2 separate regions of the Homo sapiens genome follow, and region 2 is linked to region 1. The links are contacts of gene promoters, found by promoter capture Hi-C in blood cells and fetal thymus (Javierre and others, 2016). All regions are on one chromosome and are shown on one strand. The core of a region is centred on a gene start or on the middle of the fragment in contact, and the rest is flanking DNA. Distances in the headings are between cores, read along the strand shown.

Region 1 (4,990 bases), core at 644-3,143:
CCAACATTCACCCTCTAGTGGAGCACTAATGGAGGGCAGACTCCCCTGTCCTCTGGGTTATCAGTTTGCGGGGAGGGGCCGTTGGGGAACCCTTAATGATCTCTCCAGCCTCTCTTCCCTTTCCCGGCGACCTTCTCTTGCGGGCTCCAGACCTCGGCTCTCTGGAGTCCTGGGGTGTCACCCGCTCTCAGCTCCGCCCGCTTCTCCGGTTTCCCTGGCCATAAAACCCTCGCCTCAAGCTCTAAAGCGTTTCCCTGATGTTCCGATTCAGGTGGAAAACTTTTTTTCAAGGTGTAAATTTTCTCTGCTGGGGTCGTGATTTATTCCGCTCTGAAGTCAGCGGAAATTTGACCCGTGTTTTCCGAAGTGAGAATAGGGGGCGGGGAAGCCCCTTCGACCCTTGTTTCTAAATCTCCACCTCGAAGACCTGGGCATTTCTGAAAGGCGTGACAATAGGGGGTGGGCCGGAGAGGGTAATTCGATGCAGAGAATTGAAAGGAAGTCTGCAGAACGGGGCCGTGGCTTAGAAACGCTATCATTAAGACAGAAAAAAAAAGTGACTGGGGTTTCTTAGCCCTGAAGGGCTGCAAATGAGCGCGCGACAAGAGTCGCGATTCCCTGCATTCGGCACTTCCCGAAGCTCCCGAAGTGACAAGGGCGAGCAATGGGACACCCTCGGCCCCTCCACCAAAACCCAAGTCTACCCTGGCTTTACCCGCACTACCCTTCTCCCGGGAGCTCCAGCTGTCTTCCCCCCGGCTACCAGGCACAAGCCCCGCGCTCCTCACTGTCCCTGGCAAACTTTCCCTGCGGGCCGACCCGCAGAGACCGCAAGTGGCGGGAAGCGGGACTGCAAATGAATAGAGGACCATGATCTGAAACGCGACCACCCACTCATCCCTTGATTCCCCCACCCGGCCGCGTCCCCCTGGCGCACAGACCCAGGAAGGCGCATAGACCTGCCTGGGTCTGTGCATCCTCCCGCGCACACATGCAGCCGCCGCCGTTAGGCGGGCGGGGATATGTCCCCGAGGGCCCCGCACTTACGCGCAGTGATGCCTGGGTGCTCCAGTTCGCGGCGGTCGTTGGTGCAGCCGCCCTGCTCCAGCCTGGCGTCGGCCGCGGCGCAACAGTAGCGGAGCGCGCAGGAGCCGCAGCAGATGGTAGCGTCCAGCGTGTCGAAGTCCTCTGGGCACTGGAAGCCCTCGTGGTAGTTGCCCTGCACGTCCACCCAGCCGTGGCAGTACTCTCCGGACTGCTGGGCGCCCGCCGGGCCCCAGCGCAGCCAGCCAAGGAGAAGGCAAAGCGCCAGCAGTGCCCTCATCGCCACTGGGCTCCCTGGGCGGCCGGGAGCAGGACGCAGCTGGAAAGCGAAGGGCTGAGCCCGGGCTCAGGGCGCACAGCGATTCCGCCTCCCCAGGGACACGTCGCAAGCTGCTGGCCCCGGCGGCCGAAGCCAGTCCTGCGTGGGATAGCAGGGGCCGGGGAGGCGACAGGGGCTGCACTACGAGTTCCGCAGGCCGGGAGTCAGCATGGTGCGCGGGGCGAGTTGGCGAGGGCCTGCGGGAGGCGCCGGCAGAGGCAGTTGCTGGGGCTGTCGCTGCCGCCCTTCGCCCGGCTCATAGCGCTCCCCGCGCGAGGGGCGCGCCAACCCCCCGGCCACCTCCCTCCCCACTCCTCAAGGGAGCCATAGCGCCCGGGGCTGCCAACTCCAGCGCCGCACAGAGTCCCAACCTGTGGCGATCGCCGGGTCCCGAGAGGAGCCGGAGGAAAAGAATTTGTTCCCCACGTGCGAGTACCCCAGACAGGCGGCCGCTCAGCCCCAGCCCCTATCTGTCACAGGAGCAGGAGTCAGCTCCGCCGCGGCCAAGTACAAACGGCCGCGGGGTTGCTGACAGCTCTGCCCGCAAGGCGTCTTTTAAAAAGGAAGAGGGAGGAGGAGACAATGAGGGTTAAGAAAGAGTCCGCCCTCCCGGATCGCGCCTCTGGAGCTAATCACAGCGGGTGCGGCGCGGGCCGAGGGTCCTCTGCGCTTTCTGGTTCGCGCTCCATCCTCCGCCTCCCCCCGGCCACCCCCGCCCATGCCGCTCCCCCAGGACTTGACTCTCAACCTGAAGATATCAGACCCTCCCCTCCCCCGCCGCACACCCCAACTCTCTCACAGCCCGGAAATCTCTGCAGAGTGACGTTGAGGGCTGCCGAATTCCCGCGTTTATCCACGCACGTGGGCGCGCGAGTGGAGACGCTGGATTTACTTTTCAATGGATATAATGCATGAATGCGGTGCAGTCATTGAAGTTTGTCGAATCATCTGTGCCCTGTTGCACAGACTCAGACTCGTTCCTGGGATACCGCTTCTAAAGGTTCAGGACCGAGAACATGGTTTTTAGGTGTCGCCAACATGTGCTGAGCTTTCCACCTACGTTTCCACTTTTTCTGGGAGGAACGGCACATTTTCACAAGCACACACACACACACACTCGCACTTTTTCCGCCGGCTGAAGGATTGCCGGTCACCTCTGCCAGCCAAGGCCAGCTCGCAAAACCTCAAAGAGCACGACTTCTCCGTTCACGCCCGCAAAGGAAATAAAGGAGCAAAATTAATGATAATTGAGCAGAACTGAACTTCTGTTCAGGGAAAGAAACACATTTATTTAAATGATGTGTCCCCTGTGGGCTATTTTCAGGGGCACTGCTCCGTTAGCGGCCTAAGTGCCTTATGAAACTGGTGTTATGTGAAACCTGGGCCAAACGCAAGCATTTATTTTGACTGCATCCTGAACTTCCAATCATCGTCTATTGGTATGTGTGAATATGTTCGGTGTATCTCGGCTTATTTGTCAAACAAGCTGCATACCCGTGTCCCTGAGTTAGATGTCGGCAAGTTGAGTGAAACAAAAGGAACAAAGTGTTCTCAGCTCCAGCGACACAAGGTGCGCGGTCAAACGCATTTATCACGTTCGCAGCTTCCTGATGAACCGAGTCGATTCCGGAGAAACTTTTTTAAAAATCTCCTATTAAAACGATTTCTTTTTTTTTTTTTTTTATCTAAGTTAAAGTATATTCCAATTAAATAATTACTTCTGATTTCTAATTTTAGGTATTGGGATTAGCATTTAGTTATGTGGCTGCTGAAAATACATGTCCATTTCACACGTTAAGTGGGACCGTGTAAATATTTAACTTTATTGCTCTCTTAGAGTTACATATTTCTTAGGACAATACGAAGCTATTAAGTAAAAACAAATTAAGTTGGAGCTTTCAATAACAAACAATGAAACAGTTTTTTAGTTAAATAGTTTAAGCATATGGGAAATTGTTTTGCAGAAATTTCTTAGATATTGGGTTTTTTATTTACAAAAAAAAGGTCTTGCCAGACTTAATCTTTTTTTTAACTCTAGTTGTTTTTTAGGAGTGTTGTTTCAATTGTATATATATCCTGAGCAATTACAGGAAAATGTCACTTAGAAACACAGCAAAAATGAGATATAGTGATTATAATCAGATGATAAAAATTATGACATGTTTACTGCTAATAACTTTCCCAGAACCACACCTTTTAATATTAGTTTTTGTTAAAATTTAGAGGAATTTCATTACGTCATAACTGCATAAAGTTCTGCTGCAGCAGCAACCTTTGCTGGTCCCCCAAGGGTCAAGTTTCTCTCATTATCCAGCTGTTCTTTGATAGCATTAATATTTTAAGGAGTGATTTGTTGGCACTTACCTCCCATTAATTACATTCTCCATGCCACAGTGGGATTCTTTTTCCTGGAGACACCAGCTATAATTAATTCCCTCATTCAAAGCTCCTGTCTACTTGACTTATTTAGAGGGCATTTTACCCAAATTTAGTTGGATGATGTTTACTAATGGAAAGTAACCAAACCTCCAAATTACTTGATCCTTCGTAGATCTGACTTGTGTGAACAGTAAACAACTGTGCACCATGCTTCAGATCTAGGTCCTCATCCTAAGCACCTTTAAAACCATTACAACAATCAGCTTCAGGAGTTTGCCTGGGCGAGGGGTTGGGGGGAGGCAGTGATATGTTTGGTTTCTTGTCATAGAAGATCTCTGCAAACTTTCCATTGTCAAATTTTAACTTCAAAACTGATGCCCTGAGAATCCTTTTCACCAACAGAAAGAGAATATTCACCTCTTTTTAGATATATAAACATCCAAAGTTTTTGTTATTCTGTTACTAGTTTAATAGTAAAGGAAGATGAAAAAGTTCTCATAGACACCCCTGAAAGACTCTAGGGGGAAGACATAGAGATAGAAAATAAAGTCCACAATATCTGGGGTATTATGAAGAGGTTTTGGAAATTCTTTATTGTTTCTTATCTCAGTAACACAAATTCCTTATTTTGGTCAAGAACATAATCATAAGAGATCATTTCCCCAGCCTACATACATTCTCTTGTGGCCCTGCCTCAAGGAAACTCTGTAGGAAGTGAGTTAATTGACATGATGTCTGGACTATGCTTTAATAAACACCAGCAAGAAAGAAAGAGAGGAGAGAAAGGCAGAAAGAAAGGGAAAGAAAAGAGGGAGGGTAGGAGGAAAAAGAAAAGATAGGTGAGCAATAGGGATGAGAAGATGGGCTAGGCAGAACTGAAACACAACTGGCAACATGTAGATAACTGTAGCTGGCTGAAGGGAACTTATAAAATCGAAATGCAACTCTTTTTTTCTTTTCTTTTCCTTTTGTTTGAGACGGAGTCTCACTCTGTTGCCCAGGCTGGAGTGCAATGGCATGATCTCGGCTCACTGCAACCCCCATTTCCTGGGTTCAAGCAATTCTCCTGCCTCAGCCTCCCAAGTAACTGGGACTACAGGCACCCACCACCATGCCCGGCTAATTTTTGTATTTTTAGTAGAGATGGGGTTTCACCATGTTGGCCAGGCTGGTCTCGAACTTCTGACCTCAGGTGATCCGCCCACCTCAGCTTCCCAAAGTGCTGGGATTACAGGCGTGAGCCACTGC
Region 2 (4,990 bases), core at 813-3,312, 480 kb before region 1:
AAAATAAGACAAGGAGTTGAGGAGAAGACCATTGTCCCCACTTCTGTATGAAAACTCCTATATCTCTGACACTCTAGGGATTAGCGATCCCTGGGAGCATTAGAAGACAGCACCCTTGGCATGGATATTGTAGCTTTGCAAGGGGCAGAGGCAGCAGTTGACATCCATAAGTCATCTCTAGGCAGCTCCAGGTGTGTTGGGTACTGCTAAGCATGAGCCAAATGCGGAAAGCCTGCCACATGGGGCTGGCCTCAGAATATTGTGTGGTTTTCCATATGAGACTCACTGCACTCTCCCTTTCCTGAAATCATGGAGGCTTTGGAGTTGGGGAACCTGAGGCTCTGCCATCTGTCAGTTGAAAGTTCAGAGCTATTGTAATTTAGGAATCATTTGTTCCGCCAGGCTATGGAATCCTGCAACATATGTTCCCCAGCACATGCATGTGAGAAGCTCAATCTAGAATGCTGTTCAGCTACTTAAAGGAGAATCCTGAGGATCTTAGCACTGTTGAGTATTTATTCCCATATTTTATCCATTCTAAAGCATGCATTTTGTCTTCACATTTTAACAACTCTGAAACTGGTGCACACCTGATCCTCAGATCAGTCAGTGACAGTCATGAAATAGTTGTTATTGCCTGCACATTAAAGCTTAGACTGGGTGTCACTGGCTTTGAAGAAGATTCCAGAGACAATAGCAAAGCACGATTTTAAGAAATGCTGCATCATCAATGCCCTCGATTGCAGGAAGAACCAACAGCATTGAGGGAAATAGCACATACATCAATAACTCTAAGTGGAAAAGTAATTCGGAAAACTCAGACTGAATATGAATACATTTAGGAACATTGAATAAATTTACTTTACATTTATTTGCCTTTATATATATACTCAAGAGTGATAAATGAGGGAAATCTATGTATAAATACATTCAGAAGAGCTTTTTTGCACATGTTTAAAATAAAAATTTCAAGTGACAATAAAATACTGCCTCATGGTTAAGTTAGTAGGGTTTTTTCCTTTCTTAGTGGTTCATAAAATAAGGATGTATCTTTCAGCTGATTGCATCTTAGATTCAATGAAACATGGGCATATGCCACAATACTCATACATATGTAATCTTTATTTAGCGTCATGCAGCATCCAGAGGAACCAGTAATAAATAATTTTATTACCAGAAAGGGCACATTCTTAGTAGCATATCATCAGGAACATACTGGGATCCAGATGATGGGCCATTCATTTCTTTGTGATCTCCATAGGGTCATCTTTCTCTCCAATAAAACCAGCCTTGGGAAAGCATTCAGGATTTCCTTCTCCCTGCTACCCTCTTCCTTCTCTGCCTCTCTGCCCTCCTGCCAGGGCCCAAGCTTCATTTTGTTGCCACTCTGTGGGCCAAAGCCACTACATCAGTCTCCACTCACCCCTATACAGGAACGGGCTCCAGTCTTGTCAATATTGATCACATCTCACAGCATAAGTATGACGTTTTATTGTAGGGGAAATCCCCCCTGGCAGGGGTGAGGATGGAAAAGAACAAATAGGTGAAACAGACAAAGAACAATGCCTGTCATAGGTGAAACAGACAAATAACAATGCCTATCACTTTATTTAGTCTCATAATATTTGTGATAATAGTGAATTATGAAACACAGATTTTACAGATGGGAAAACTTGCACTAAATGTTTGAGTCACATGCTAATACTAACATGGACCAACAGAATGAGGATCTCCAGGATCACATTAGCTGTGGACTTACAATGGGGGGACTAACCTTATATTTTACTTAAAATAGTACTAAGCAATACACAGAGAGAGTGTTAATAATGACCTTTCATATATGTCTACAAATGTTTGTTTACAAAGAGTTTATGAAGGCTTACTTATAGGGGAACTAATTTAAAATAAAACAGCTATGATTATTTATATTCATATTTACTCTACCCCATTCTGATAGGGATTAAAAGAAGCCTACAAAAATGCATATGAGGTAGCTTATATAGCAACATAAAAATAAATTACGTTATGAAACAACTAAAGAAAAGGAGACATAGGAAAAATAAAGATAGAAGATAAATATTAACATATTCGCTTTCAAGATTGGTGAAAGTGAGGCACCACAAGATAAAATTAGTCCCAGTTATTATGTTATTCCTGCCAGTCTGTGTCCTATATTAATGGAGCATTTGACTTGAAGTTGAATGCCAGTAACTTTTCAAAAAGTCAGAAAATCAATCTTCATCTTTATCTTTTCACTTTTCCCTTTCAATTGCAATTGTTTAATTTCTCATCCCATTAATTTATTCAGCATACATGTTTTAAGCACATCTCATGTACCTAGCATTGCCCTTGGCCCTGCCCATATGTATATGAACAAAGTCAATTCTCACCCAACCAAAAAGTGGCCTGCTCAGCTTTTTCCTCTTCAGGTTACCGTGCAGTTCAAATACCAACACAGAACTATTTGAACATGAATATTTTAACCTCCCAAAGTTTGTAAGCCTACCTTGAATCATTTGTGTGTAAAATAGTGGTATTCTAAAAATAGAGTTTCTTCAGAGAAAATAATTCTCTTTGTTCTGAGTAAGTACACAGTAAAAGAATGAGATATTTCCTAGTCTATAGTCTGCTTTCAGCTCCCTTCTTAAGGAAAGTAATTGTCCTTCATAAATAAATTATATTATTCTGATGCAAAGCACAGTGCATAGCAAATTATATCCTCTCATCAAAAAATAATATTTTCATGGAAGCTTATTTCATCTTTTTCAGAAGTTTCTCATCCCCCATAAAAGTCTAAATTTCAAACAAGTGCAGAGAGTTACATTTTAGAAAGGAATTATTGTTAACACCCTCATCCTGTTTGTTTCATACACTTGAGTTTTTGGAATTCCTTTTATATATATCACTTTGTATTCTATATCATAGAAAATTTTGAAGTTAAATGTTAAAGACTCTTTTAAAGAACAATTCTTAATCTAAGTGTATGAATCTATTTAATTTGCGTATGCTAAAATAAATCCTTCTTCATAGATCTGTCTTGTTCAGCATGTCAATATTGAATTCTCCAAAGTCAATTTGTGGAAAATCATTGATGATCTAAAAGTATCATCCTAGCCCTTAAAGATTTGTATCAGAGATGGCATAAGAGAAGGGATGAATAATCGATATGTACATCAAACACCTAAAAATATTGAATCACTATGGAATAGAATGGAGTGTAAATATTGGCTTAAGTCCCCTAAACTGCATAAGGAAACCTGCAAGGAGGTTTAGCATAAGAAAAGTAAGCATATTGCTAAAACTGAAGGATTTTATTTTTAAAATTCTATGCTACTCTAAGGTAATTCTGGCTAATGAGTCTAGGCATTTAAGTTTGGTCTCCCTCTGCAAAAGAGACATGATATTCCTCATGGCTGTTTTTTACTTCCATTGACTAAATGTATGCACAGCAACATGACTGTCATGGTATATAATTGCTCTGGAAGTCAAGTTTTCATTTCCTGTCAGTTTATCATTTTATTTATTGAATCATTTATCTTTTCATTCAACATTTCATTAGTTTCTTCTAACTAAAGAGTTGTACTTAGAAACGCTCCAAGATTAGTGAAAAGTGGATCCCTATTCATGTTCAAGTGTCTGTGGATTATTTAATTATTAATTTGATAATTATGCTGCTTTACTGGAGTCTTGTCTGTGTCCTATATTAGAAGTATGTTTTACCTAAATATAACAAAAAGGATCTCAGTAAAACAAATGATGATAGTACAATAATGAATGTCTGGCTTTAAATATAGACATTAGTATGCTATTTTAAAACATGAAGAAATGTCCATAGTAAAACAGCTTTACAAGTAAATTACATAAAAGGAAAATTTCTGTTTTTAATACATAGAGAAAGCTAATTAAATACCTAAGTGTCAGAGAATGGAGAATCTTCCCAAATTACTGATGGGCTTGTACACTGATATAGATATTCTGGATCCATGACCCAGCAATCCCACTCCTGGGTATGTAACCAAAAGAAGTTGTCTCACAGAACCATGAGGGGACATGTATGAGGATACTTGTTTCAATATTGTGTGGGGTTGTGGGAACCTGGTAAACAACATATTTGTAAACTGCTTTGTAGAAATGGGACTCAATAAACTGAATTTACACAAACCCAGATAAATCCTTAATACTTTGTATTGAATAAAATAATTTCAAAATAGAATGGGTTCTAAAGGTAATAACATATCTTTTACATAGAATAAAAACAGATTCATGCATGAAGCAATACCACATATTCTACAAGGGTATTGTAGAATATGTACAATATTCTACATATTCTACTGAATATAAGTCAAATATATATCCAATAGGTATATATAAAATAGAGGAGAGAAATAGGAGTGAGAATAAAGAATGAAAGACAACAAGGGGATTTCCATGGACCAGAAATGATAGTTTTCCATGAACAGTAGAGTACAATTAGTTCACCCCACTGTGCTCAGAAAATAAATATGTGATTACCTGTGGTTGCAGTGTTATGGTTAGGTTTTACTTTTTTGTACTTTTCTGTATTTTCAAATGAGCATGTATTATTTTTATATTTAATGAGCAAAGCATAGTTGTTCCTTAAGTTTTTCTAGTCACATAAGTATAATTTACATACATTAAAATTCACCCTTTTAATGCCACAGATTGATGACTTCTAACAAACATGAACAAGATTGCTTAGATTTTTAAGTGACTTGCTTCAACCAAATTTTCTATACCCAAAGATAGTGCTCTTTCCACTACATCAAAATACTTTGGAAGATCACTCAAAAACTTTCGTTCACTTCTGTTTGTATTTCATAATACACCACACTCTTTTTTGCCTTGAAAAATTAATTACTATAATAAATGCCTCTGTAGAACTGCATGTGGGAGGAAATCATTAGACATGTCCTTTGTTAGGTGAAACAATGGAATTGAAGGAAAATAATTTTCAGCAGTGAAAGAGCAG

The links. Contacts are between HindIII fragments. The CHiCAGO score rates a contact against its expected background, and 5 or more counts as called.
Region 2: a fragment that was not itself captured here is called in contact with the fragment with the promoter of SHISA3 in region 1 in 1 of 17 cell types (naive CD8 T cells); the score reaches 5.6 in naive CD8 T cells.

What each region holds. Positions count from the first base shown.
Region 1 is chr4:42,394,391-42,399,380 of GRCh38, reverse strand. SHISA3 (shisa family member 3) reads right to left here and starts at 1,893. Exons shown (of 2, transcript NM_001080505.3): 1 at 1,048-1,893. The coding sequence starts at 1,324. RefSeq lists silencers at 380-429, 2,070-2,149 and an enhancer at 956-1,845. The HindIII fragment of the contact is 26,425 bases long and covers 1-4,990 here.
Region 2 is chr4:42,872,478-42,877,467 of GRCh38, reverse strand. No RefSeq gene overlaps it. Among named protein-coding and RNA genes, the nearest start is that of GRXCR1, 18 kb to the left of the region's middle. The HindIII fragment of the contact is 1,381 bases long and covers 1,372-2,752 here.